3 separate regions of the Homo sapiens genome follow, and regions 1 and 3 are each linked to region 2. The links are contacts of gene promoters, found by promoter capture Hi-C in human tissues and cell types (Jung and others, 2019). All regions are on one chromosome and are shown on one strand. Each heading gives the region's core, a stretch centred on a gene start or on the middle of the fragment in contact. The rest is flanking DNA. Distances are from core to core; before and after follow the strand shown. Region 1 overlaps FMO1-AS1 (FMO1 antisense RNA 1). Region 2 holds the start of FMO3 (flavin containing dimethylaniline monoxygenase 3). Region 3 holds the start of FMO4 (flavin containing dimethylaniline monoxygenase 4).

Region 1 (4,010 bases), core at 577-3,076, 150 kb after region 2:
CACCAACAATAGACAAGCAGGGAGCCAAATCATGAACAAACTCCCATTCACAATTGCTACAAAGAGAATAAAATACCTAGGAATACAGCTAACAAGGGATGTAAAGGACCTCTTCAAGGAGAAATACAAACTACTGCTCAAGGAAATAAGAGAGGACACAAACAAATGGAAAAACATTCCATCCTCATGGATAGGAGGAATCACTATCATGAAAATGGCCATACCGCCCAAAATAACTTACAGATTCAATGCTATTCCCATTGATATTCTTCACAGAATTTAAAAAATTATTTTAAACTTTATAAGAAATCAAAGAAGACCCGGTATAGCCAAGACAATTGTAAGCAAAAACAACAAAGCTAGAAGAAACACACTACCTGACTTCAAACTATACTACAAGGCTACAGTAACCAAAATAGCATGGTATTGGTACCAAAACAGGCATATAGGCCAATGGAGTAGAACAGAGACCTCAGAAATAACACCACACATCTACAACCATCTGATCTTTGACAAACCTGCCAACAACAAGCAATGGGGAAAGGATCTCCTATTCAGTAAACGGTGCTGGGAAAACTGGCTAGCCATAGGCAGAAAACAGAAAGTGGACACTTCTTAAGCCTTATACAAAAATTAACTCAAGTTGGATTAAATACTTAAATGTAAAACCACAAACCTTAAAAACCCTAGAAGAAAACCTAGGCAATACCATACAGGACATAGGCATGGGCAAAGACCTCATGACTAAGACGCCAAAAGCAATTGCAACAAAAGCCAAAATTGATAAATGGGATCTAATTAAACTAAAGAGCTTCTGCACAACAAAAGAAACTATTATCAGAGTGAACAGGTAACCTAGAGAATGGGAGAAAATTTCTGCAATCTATCCATCTGACAAAGCTCTAACATCCAGAATCTACGAGAAACTTAAACAAATTTACAAGAAAAAAAACAACCCCATCAAAAAGTGGGCAAAGGATATGAACAGACACTTCTCAAAAGAAGACATTTATGCAGCTAACAAACATGAAAACAATCTCCACATCACTGATCATTAGAGAAATACAAATCAAAACCACAAAGAGATACCATCTCACACTAGTCAGAATGGTAATTATTAAAAAGTCAAGAAACAATAGATACTGGTGAGTCTGTGGAGAAATAGGAATGCTTTTACATTGTTGGTGGGAATGTAAGTTAGTTCAACCATTGTGGAAGACAGTATGGTGATTCCTCAAGGATCTAGGACCAGAAATAACATTTGACCTAGAATTCCAATACTGGATATATACCCAAAGGAATATAAATTATTCTACTGTAAAGACACATGCACACATTTATTGCAGCACCATTTACAATAGCAAAGACATGGAACCAAACCAAATGCCCATCAATGATAGACTGGATAATGAAAGTGTGGCATATATACAGCATGGGATACTATAAAAGGAATGAGATCATATCCTTTGCAGGGACATGGATGATGCTGAAAGCTATCATCCTCAGCAAGCTAACACAGGAAAAGAAAACCAAATACCATTTGTTCTCTCTCATAAGTGGGAGTTGAACAATAAGAACATACGGACACAGAGAGGGCAACAACAGACACCAGGGCCTGTTGGGGGTGAGGAGTGAGGGAAGGGAACTTAGACGATGCAGCAAACCACCATGGCGCATGTATACCTATGTAACAAACCCACGCATTCTGCACATGTACCCATTTTTTTAGAAAAAATTTTAAAAAATGATACCATGTAATACCTTTTGTATTAATTACAAACCCCTTAGGCAGACTCAAGATAGAATTCTAAGTGATATGATAGATAAGATAGTTTCTAACGTACAGTTGCAGGCTTTGTCACAAATGTTTATCAAGCTATAAAGATGTTTAAAGAAATTCTTAAAAAGAAAAACATAAAAGTGGCTGTTTCCTCCAATCTTCAGATAGTGGATATGTGAGTCACTGAATCACCACTACTGACACTAGTAAACTCATTTCAAGCATAATAATTGGCCTTAAGTAGTCTTGGTTCTCCCTCCAACTCCACTTTCAGTGCTTTCATTCTAAAGGTGGGTTCTCAGGAAAAGAAAAATAATAACCTCGAGGTGTAAGGAACAGAGGGAATTACTTCCTTTAATGTGTGGCATTAAAAAACAAACACTCACATTTTAGAATGACAGGTATCTGTGGGGAAGATCTGTGTAGGTAGGGGACCTTTGATGCTTCGAGTGTAGCGGGAAGTTGTGAGTTAGGGAATTGTGTTTGTCTTAACTTTGTTTTTTGTAGAGAGAAAAACAATTTCACGGGGTGGGTCCAATTTTCAGACTAAGTAAATTCTGTGCTCTCTTTCAGCTCTAAAATTCTGTGGCTCTAACTGTGAATCAGAGAAGTGAAATAGAGTAATGGAAGTGAGACTGAAGAAGATGGTTGACAACTCAAGATGAATGAAAGACAAATCTAACACCTGAAACCATAAAAATACTAGACGATAACATCAGAAAAACTCTTCTAGACATTGACTTAAGCAAAGACTTCATGACCAAGAAGCCAAAAGCAAATGCAACAAAAACAAAGATAAATAGATTGGACTTAATTAAATTAAAAAGCTTCTGCACAACAAATGAAATAATTAGCAGAGTTAACGGACAACCCACAGAGTGGGAGAAAATCTTTGCAATCTATACATAAAACAAAAGACTAATATCCAGAATCTACAAGGAACTCAAACAAATCAGCAGGAAAAAACGAACAATCTCATCAAAAAGTGGGCTAAAGACATGAATAGACAATTCTCAAAAGAAGATATACAAATGGCCAACAAGCATATGGAAAAATGTTCAACATCACTAATGATCAGGGAAATGCAAATCAAAACCACAATGCAATACCACCTTACTCCTGCAAGAATGTCCATAATTTTAAAAATATAAAATTATAGATGTTGGCATGAATGTGGTGAAAAGGGAAAACTTTTACACTGCTGGTGTGAATTTAAAGTAGTACAACCACTATGGAAAACAGTGTGGAGATTCCTTAAAGAATTGAAAGTAGTTCTACCATTTGATTCAGCAATCCCACTACTGGGTATCTAACCAGAGGAAAAGAAGTCATTACACAAGAAAGATACTTGCACAAGCATGTTTACGTCACCACAATTTGCAATTGCCAAAATATAGAACCAGCTCAAATGCCCATCAATCAATGAGTGGATAATAATTTATGATACATATATATATATACACACACACACACACCATGGAACACTACTCAACCATAAAAAAAGGAACAAAATAATGGCATTTGCAGCAACCTGGATGGAGTTAGAGACCATTATTCTAAGTAAAGTAACCCAGGAATGGAAAACCAAACATTGTATGTTCTCACTCATAAGTGGGAGCTAAGCTATGAGAATGCAAAGGCATAAGAATGATACGATGGACTTTGGGGACTTAGGGGAAAGGGCAGGAGGGAGGTGAGGCATAAAAGACTACACATTGCGTACAGTGTACACTGCTTGGGTGATGAGTGCACCAAAATCTCGCAAATCACCACTAAAGAACTTTTTCATGTAACCAAACACCACCTGCTCCCTAAAAACCTATCGAAATAAAAAATATACTTTTTAAAAAAGAAGATGATTGAGAAATACAATGAAGGAGCTAAGAAACATCCCTCTAGTGCATTGATCAATAAAGACTTGGTATGATGCATTAACAACCAATCCCCAAACCTCGATACCTTGAAATAAAACAAAGATTATTTCATGTATGTGTCCATTAGTGTAGGCCCTGCTCATCACATTCACCAGGTATTCGGACTAATAGAAGAGCCATCTTGAAAGTTGCTGATTACCACACTGAAGGAAAAGAAAGTTCTATGGAATCTTACTGGCAATTAAGTGCTCTAGCCCAGAAAGGACACCTTACTCTAGCTCACAGTTCTTTGACCAGAACGAGTCACATTCCTCCCAACCAACCGCTAGAGGGCCAAGAAGAACAATCCTACCATT
Region 2 (3,611 bases), core at 576-3,075:
TAAAGAATCCACATCTTTGGAATGTTCCATCATAGCTTTGATGATCAAGTCTGAGTCTCCAAAAGCCACTCTCATTTTATAGAAATCTTTCAACTGTTATGCATCATCAGACATGACAACAGGTGTCACAAGAGATATATGCCTTGCCTCCAGCAAATCAATTAGAAGAAAACAAAAATTTCTTTAAAATACAAAGAAAATATAGAGCAAGAGAACAGAATATAAGTCTTCCACTCATATCCTCCAACAGCAACAATAATCTAGCAACCATCCAGGGATGAAAGTTTCTTCTTAGCAGTTTTGTGATTTGGAGGGGACAACAGAGTAGAGAATGCCCACTGCCCCAACCAGAGCCTGGGCATTTGAGATTCTGAAGATTTAAAAAGGGGCTCTGCAGAAAGCTGTGGCAAGCAAAGGATAGGCTAGAGAGAGACAGGACTAATAAATGTGTCGACTTCAGATACATTCTTGTGAAGGACAGCAAAGAATAGGTGGCCTTTTCACCTCCTAGAGAGATAAAACATCGGAGGCCAAGGTAGAATTGGGTGTGTCCTGCCAATCTTTAAATGAATAAGGCTATAGGAGTAGTATTGCTTCCTGAAGTAGTCACAATCTTTTCTTTGCATTATTTTAATTCTATTTATGTAGCATTAAAAACTGAAAAGAAGTTCTATGTAAAATGAGAGCAGAGAAAATCATGTTGTCTGAATTGCAGCCCTAGAAAATTTCATGAACCTATGACTTGTTTTTAATTTTTATCTACAAGTCACATTTGCTCATTTTTAACTACATGCCACATTTTATATGTACCTATGTATACATGTATTTATGTGTACATACCCTTTAATCCTCTAATCCTTGTTAAAAAAAAAATAGCCAGACAGGAATTAATAGTGTAGTTATCCCTATTTTATTAATGAGTAAATCAACGATTGGAAAGGTTAAGTGATTTGCCCAAGGCCACAGAGCTATAGAAGTGATTTGGAATCTCTCATACTCACACTTCAGAGATGAAGATTACTGTCTTCAAAAGGCATGAAGGGTAATTCCTCAAAATTAGACATATACCAGTTTACACTAAGTATCACTTGCTTAATGAAGGAGTTAACTAGACAAAATGAGTGAGATGTTATAATTCTAAGTGACATCAAAATATAGTTGATAGGAAAACTTTTTTTGAAATTCTACTATATTTCATGACTGGGAGTTAGGTGCAGTTTATTTTGTCTAACTGCCAACATAATTTTACCTGGTACTAATTTTACCTGGTTCCTGGTACTAATAGATCAATTTGTGGAATTTTGATCTTTTCTGTGACCACACACTGTACTCAGAAACAAGTAAATATAAGCTTGAGAAATACAGGCCTTTGACCCCAAAATTCCAAGACAGGACATGAAAAGAGAGAGCAGAGAAAAGTCATCCTCCTTATTGGGCTATCTCAATTAAGTAGCTAAGTTTCTACAGTATTTGGAGGACTACTATGAGCTACCCACAAAAGAACTAGGAATAAGGAAAACAAGGTAAACTTTCAAATAACACATAATAAAATGGAGTACAGAACTGCAAAGTCACCTGGGAGAAACTACTTGACTCCCAGGCCAAGGGTCCAAGAGTATAACCAGCAGCTTGTGTTTACCATAATCAAAGGAAAAGTAGAAACTGGGTGGCCATGGGAGACTGGCCTACAGTCCCATCCATCACAGAGGGTTGGCGTGTGCTCACCCATTCAAGGACCAATAAATGAGTATCTCTTTAAGAGCAGCTCCTCCCATTTTTCAACAATCTTCCTAATATGTAGGCTCACTAGAACATTTTCTCTTTCAAACTGCCCAGACGGTTGGACAGGACGTAGACACACAGAAGAAAAGAAGACAAAGAACGGGTAGGAAAATTAAAAAGGTAGGAGGCTGAGGCGGGTGGATCACCTGAGGTCAGGAGCTTGAGACCAGCCTGACCAACATGGTGAAACCAAATCTCTACCAAAGATACAAAAATTAGCCAGGCGTAGTGGTGCATGCCTGTAATCCCAGCTACTTGGGAGGCTGAGGCAGGAGAATCACTTGAATCTGGGAGGCAGAGGTTGCAGTGAGCCGAGATCACACCATTGTACTCCAACCTGGATAAAAGCGAAACTCCGTCTCAAAAAAAAAAAGAAAAGAAAAAGAATAAAAGGTGATATAGTAAAGGGTTGAGGGTGGGATGGGTAAATGAAGAAGGAGCATGCTGTAGTTTTATACCAAATATGGCTAGAATGAGAATGATATAATTCAGGCAGTTTGTTTGTTTCTGGGAATCACGGATCATGATGTTTAATCATCCAAGTCTATTTCCCTGCATAGCTATGTGATTTTGTCTAAAAAGAAAAAAAAAAGTAGTGAAAGAAGTAGTGGTAGAGCCTAAAGACAGTGTCAGGAACAGAAAAAAGTTAGGAAACGTAATTTTCTTAGAGGGGAATGGACGCTGAAGGTAGTGGGAAAAAATTGTTTTTAGGTAAGAACATGACTTCTTTCCCCAACACCCCCCGGAGAGAAGGTCTCACTCTGTCACCTAGGCTACAGTGCAGTGCTGTAACCATAGCTCACTGCAGCCTCAAACTCCTGGGCTCAAGCGATACCCCAGCTCAACAGGACTATATAATCCCAGAGTAGCTGGGACTATAGGTATGCACCATTTACTTGTCTTTTTAATTGAGAAGGTGAAGTACATTATTGATGGGGAGAAGGGGTGACTACCTGGCACACTGAAATACAGACATCTTCAGACCTTGTTCCTCATTATCCGTATCTAAGTAAAAAGAAGATACAGATTGCGTGTGTGTGTGTGTGTGTGTATGACTGTGTGTGTGTATACATATACATATGTGTTTCTTCATTCCCATATACAGGCATATGTATGTGGGTGGGTGGGTGGATGTGTCTACAGGTGTTTTAGTTGCGAATCTTTATTTCTTCTGCTTACTCTTTTTGGTAGACAGTAAATGACAAAGTCCAAAAGCAAAAAAGATAAATATGTATGCTGGGTCATCAGTCTCTTAATTTTGGAGAGCTGATGACTAAAAACAAAGTGCTTATTTTTTTTTCAGAAGAAAACTTTCTCTTTAGAAATTAGAGAGAAATGAAAATGTAGTTAGATCACTAAAAGGAATTTGTTTTCTAGAGACAAGGTCTTACTCTGTCACCCAGGCTGGAGTGCAGTGGTACAATCACGGCTCACTGCAGCCTGGAACTCCTGAACTCAAGTGATCCTACCGCCTCAGCCTCCTGAGTAGCTGGGAGTACAGGCATGTGCCACCACACCCAGCTGATTTTGTTTGTTTTTTGTTTTGTTTTGTGGAGACAGGGTCTCACTCTGTTGTCCAGGCTGCTTTCAAACTCCTGGGCTCAAGTGATCCTCCCACCTCAGCCTCCCAAAGTGCTGGGATTACAGGCGTGAGCTACCATACTCAGCCAGTGTTTATTAAAAAGTAAAGTTTTTATTAAGCCAAAGAGCGAAATCAAAATAAATAGATAAATAAGTAAATACATTTTCAGCAATGTTGTTACTGGAAATGTTCTCTGGGCCTTTGCACAGGTTACCATGGGGAAGAAAGTGGCCATCATTGGAGCTGG
Region 3 (4,125 bases), core at 437-2,936, 220 kb after region 2:
TCTGTAGCTAGCAAGAAGTTTGTAAAATGCACCAATCAGTTCTCTGTAAAATGGACCAATCAGTGCTCTGTAAAATGGACCAATCAGCGCTCTGTAAAATGGATCAATCAGCAGGATTCTAAAAGTAACCAATCGTGGGGAGAATTGAGAAAAGGGCATTCTGATAAGACAGAAACAGGACATGGGAGGGGACAAATAAGAGAAAGCTGGCCACCCCAGCCAGCGGCAGCAACTGGCTCGGGTCCCCTTCCACTCTGTGGAAGCTTTGTTCTTTCGCTCTTCACAATAAATCTTGCTGCTGCTCACTCTTTGGGTCTGTGCCATCTTTTAAGAACTGTAACACTCACCACAAAGGTCCGCAGCTCCATTCTTGAAGTCAGGGAGACCAGGAACCCACCGGAAGGAACTAACTCTGGACACAATATTTTTTTTTCTTTTTTTAAATTTTTTTCTTTATTTCTTCTAAAAAAAAGTGGGATGCATGTGCAGAACGTGCAGGTTTGTTGCATAGGTACACGTGTGCCATGGTGATTTGCTGCACCTATTGACCTGTTCTCCTCTAAGTTCCCTCTCCTCACCCCCTACCCTACAACAGGCCCTACAACATTCCCCTCTCTGTGTCCATGTGTTCTCATTGTTCAACTCCCACTTATGAGTGAGAACATGCAGTGTTTGGTTTTCTGTTCCTGTGTTAGTTTGCTGAGGATGATGGCTTCCAGCTTCATCCATGTCCCTGCAAAGGACATGATCTTATTTCTTTTTATGGCTGCATAATATTCCATGATATTTTTCAAAAGAAAATATTTGCTGCCAACAGAAGATTTTATATTAAAATCTGTATTTGCAGCTTTTACTGAAAAGAACCTAAGGCCTTGCCATATTGGGCTCATTTTCTCAAATAGCAACATTTAGCTGAACTGAATAGACAGAGAAAGTACTTTCCAGTCAGATCATATCTGGCCCACTTTCCTCGTGTATGTTACCCTCCTCACTCCTGTAGGCATTTGCATGTGTAGTCACAAGCAAATGTGGTTTAGAAATTGTTCAGTGAACCATGTTGGAAAATGTCCCTAAACACAAGTCCTAAAGATGGTCTGTTATATTATCTTACAAGCACACAGTGGAAGGAAAAACAGTTAAGTTTTCTATTTCTGCCACAGCTTCTATAATTATTACCTTTCTTGTGCCCTAGGTTAATATCTAAAAATAGCTTTATGCTTTCTCAAACACATTTCACCAGCTCCCTCTGCTGATCCAATCTGAAGGACAAAACAGCTTAAATTCCTTGTAAGTCCTGAACTTTAAAATCACATTTCTGGGGTTGGAGAACTCCAAGCATGAAAGAACTTGATGAGGTAATGGTCATCTAAATAACTTTCTCCTTTGGACAGCTCCTATGGTAATCCAAGCAAGAGTCAGGGTGTAGAAGTTTGTTTCCAAAAGTAGAACTCCTGTTTCGCTGAGAAAGCTGTAATTTGGGGTGATTTGGCGCCCTCTACAGACTATAATGGCAAAAGCGACGCTATCATGTGCTTCCCATAGCTTTAGGGCTTTGCCAGAACTATGACGTTGAGGAGGGTGGGGTAAAGGGGCAGGAAGCGTTTATGTTCTGCCAATCCAACAGCTGTATTCTAACTCACCATTCCGCCCTCCCTTAAGATCACGGAAGTATCACGCTTGCCTCTTACACAACTTTTTTTCCTTAGTCTGTATACTTTCTGCTGTCACTAGCATAACAGAAAAGACGAATGGCTTTTGTTTTAAACTGAGGGCACTTTTACAAAAGTCATCTTTCCATTTATTTTTCTTTCAGAAAAAAGAATTTGGGTTTTGAGCTTTTTTAAAAAAAAAAGACAAACACTTTCCTTGACTTTGAGAAATAATTTAAGTCAAAGAATCTGCTCTATGCTAACCAAGGTAAGTGTCCTGGATTTTTTTTTTAATGGGGAAATGATCCAGAAACTGCTTTCACAAAAGATGAATGTTTTTCTTGGAGTGTGTTCCTTAAGAATGAATGTGATTATCTTCTTTTGGGGTCTCTTGACTAGGGCTAAAGCAAGAGAATTAAGGAGAGAGTCAGGAAGCAAAGGGAAGTTGTAAGGAAACAAAGTTATGTTGTGGACAGAACCATCCAAAAGGAAAGTGTCAGTGAGATAAACAGAATCATGAGACTTTCAGTGACTCCAGTGACCTCTGATTTCATCTTATGAATGAGATGGAAATGCCAGCCATTGGGAAACAAATACCCCATAGATGGCGTGGGAAAAAAATACTGTAACAAAGCAAGAGCATGGTAGGATGATGATAAGAAACATAAAATGATCAAATTTCAAATTCAAAGAAATCATAATTGATTACATGATTTGCAAATCACCCAAGTCTCTCCATGTCTCATAAAGGATTCCTACATTTGCTGGTCAGTCAGGTATAGGGTGGGGTTTTCCCGTTGTACAAAGGTCTAGTTCAATAGGTCAGGTCTCCTTTCTGCCAAGGGACTAAATATAAGCAACCTATGGCTGGCACGGTGGCTCACGCCTGTAATCCCAGCACTTTGGAAAGCCGAGGAGGGCAGACCACTTGAGATCAGGAGTTTGAGACCAGCCTGACCAACATGGTGAAACCCCGTCTCTACTAAAAATACAAAAATTATCCAGGCGTGGTGCCGCCTGCCTGTAGTCTCAGCTACTCAGGAGGCTGAGGCAGGAGAATCACTTGAACCCAGGAGGTGGAGGTTGCAGTGAGCCGAAATTGTGCCACTGCATTCCAGCCTGGAAGACAGAGTGAGACTCCAACTCAAATAAATAAATAAATAAATATAAGCACCTTTGAGCAACCAAGTACCTTATGAAGTCCACTTTATAGTTTGCAGAGTTTGCACACACGTTCTCCCAATCCTTCAAGCCTGCAGTATTCTCGCCTACCTTTGAATTCATATCTTTTTTTTTTTGTGCACCAATTACTTGGTTTTCAGACATAAGAACAGTCCTTTCAAGCTTGAAGGAAACAAAGAGAAAGCCACTTGAACCCTCTGTTTTACAAATGTGGAAGCACTGGCTCAGAGAAATTGAGAATTGTGTCCAGGGTTACAAGCTGCTTAGAGGCAGAAGCAGAACTAGAACTCAGATCTCTCAATTTCCAGTTCACTCACTACCTTCCTCTACTGACTCAAGGCAAAATTTAAAAAGGTTGCTCCCATTCAGAAATTTATAGTCTGTAAATACGGATTAATTTTAAAAGGTGCTAATTCCCAATTTGTTTCTACTGCCTGTAGAGTCTCTAAGTCAGTCCTTAAAGTGCTTTTGCCCAGCACGTTTTTAACCCCACAGGCCACTCTGTGTCACTAACTAGGTCTCTAGACAGGGATAATAAACAGGCCAGGAGAGTGCAAGCATTCATGCCTAGAGCATGCTGCTACCATAGGACTTAGCACAAGGTAGTATCAGCCTCTCCATATACAACATCTTAAGAGCAGTCACGGTCTTTTTTAAATTCTAAGACTTTACTACTATTTCTTAGTTGCAGGGTCTTCATTATCTTCAGGGCCCCATACTTAGCTTAGGACCTGCACTTAGAGGTACCCAGGGCATATTTGTTGAATGAATTAATTTGCTTCCAGTCTATTCACGTCAGTATATTTTTCACTTTGGCAATTCAGTTAGCAGTCATTTCTTTTTACCTTATGATTGCAGAGATAGAGCACAGCAAAGATCTGCCAGCCCCAGGCCTCTACCTAGTGGCCTGGAAATTCAAGTATTCTTATTGGTGGAGGCCATTTGTTTCTGATTAGAAGCTGTCTAAACCTCCTACTCCTCAACTCAAAGGAAAACACAGGTATGTCTGCCTACTCCTTTCCAAACTTGTTGATACATTTTATCTGTATGAACTGTCTTTTCCAAGGAGAAGAGAAGGAAGACAGGAGACAAGTAGGGAGGTAGAGAATGAACACTGAGTAAATATTTTGTGCAAGGCACTTTTTTGTGTAAGTAATATCAAGTTTTTTAAAATGCAAACAATCCTTCAACATAGATATTTTTATTATTTTACAAATAATATATCTAAGGTTGCTTCAGTCGGTTGCTCAGGGTCATATGGCTAGTTGGTAGCAGAGAAAGTTCAAACCCAACT

The links. The method cuts DNA at HindIII sites, captures the fragments that hold promoters and counts their contacts. A contact is called where the count stands out against the background at its distance.
Region 1: a contact is called between a fragment that was not itself captured here and the fragment with the promoter of FMO3 in region 2, in 1 of the 25 tissues and cell types used here (aorta).
Region 3: a contact is called between the fragment with the promoter of FMO4 here and the fragment with the promoter of FMO3 in region 2, in 1 of the 25 tissues and cell types used here (adrenal gland).

The regions. Positions count from the first base shown.
Region 1 is chr1:171,241,681-171,245,690 of GRCh38, forward strand. All of the region lies in intron 2 of FMO1-AS1 (FMO1 antisense RNA 1), which reads right to left. Among named protein-coding and RNA genes, the nearest start is that of FMO1, 4.8 kb to the right of the region's middle. The HindIII fragment of the contact is 3,466 bases long and covers 94-3,559 here.
Region 2 is chr1:171,089,080-171,092,690 of GRCh38, forward strand. It overlaps FMO3 (flavin containing dimethylaniline monoxygenase 3), which reads left to right and starts at 1,826. Exons shown (of 9, transcript NM_001002294.3): 1 at 1,826-1,902; 2 at 3,574-3,611. The coding sequence starts at 3,580. The HindIII fragment of the contact is 16,457 bases long and covers 1-3,611 here.
Region 3 is chr1:171,312,497-171,316,621 of GRCh38, forward strand. It overlaps FMO4 (flavin containing dimethylaniline monoxygenase 4), which reads left to right and starts at 1,687. Exons shown (of 10, transcript NM_002022.3): 1 at 1,687-1,917; 2 at 3,690-3,831. The HindIII fragment of the contact is 8,197 bases long and covers 1-4,125 here.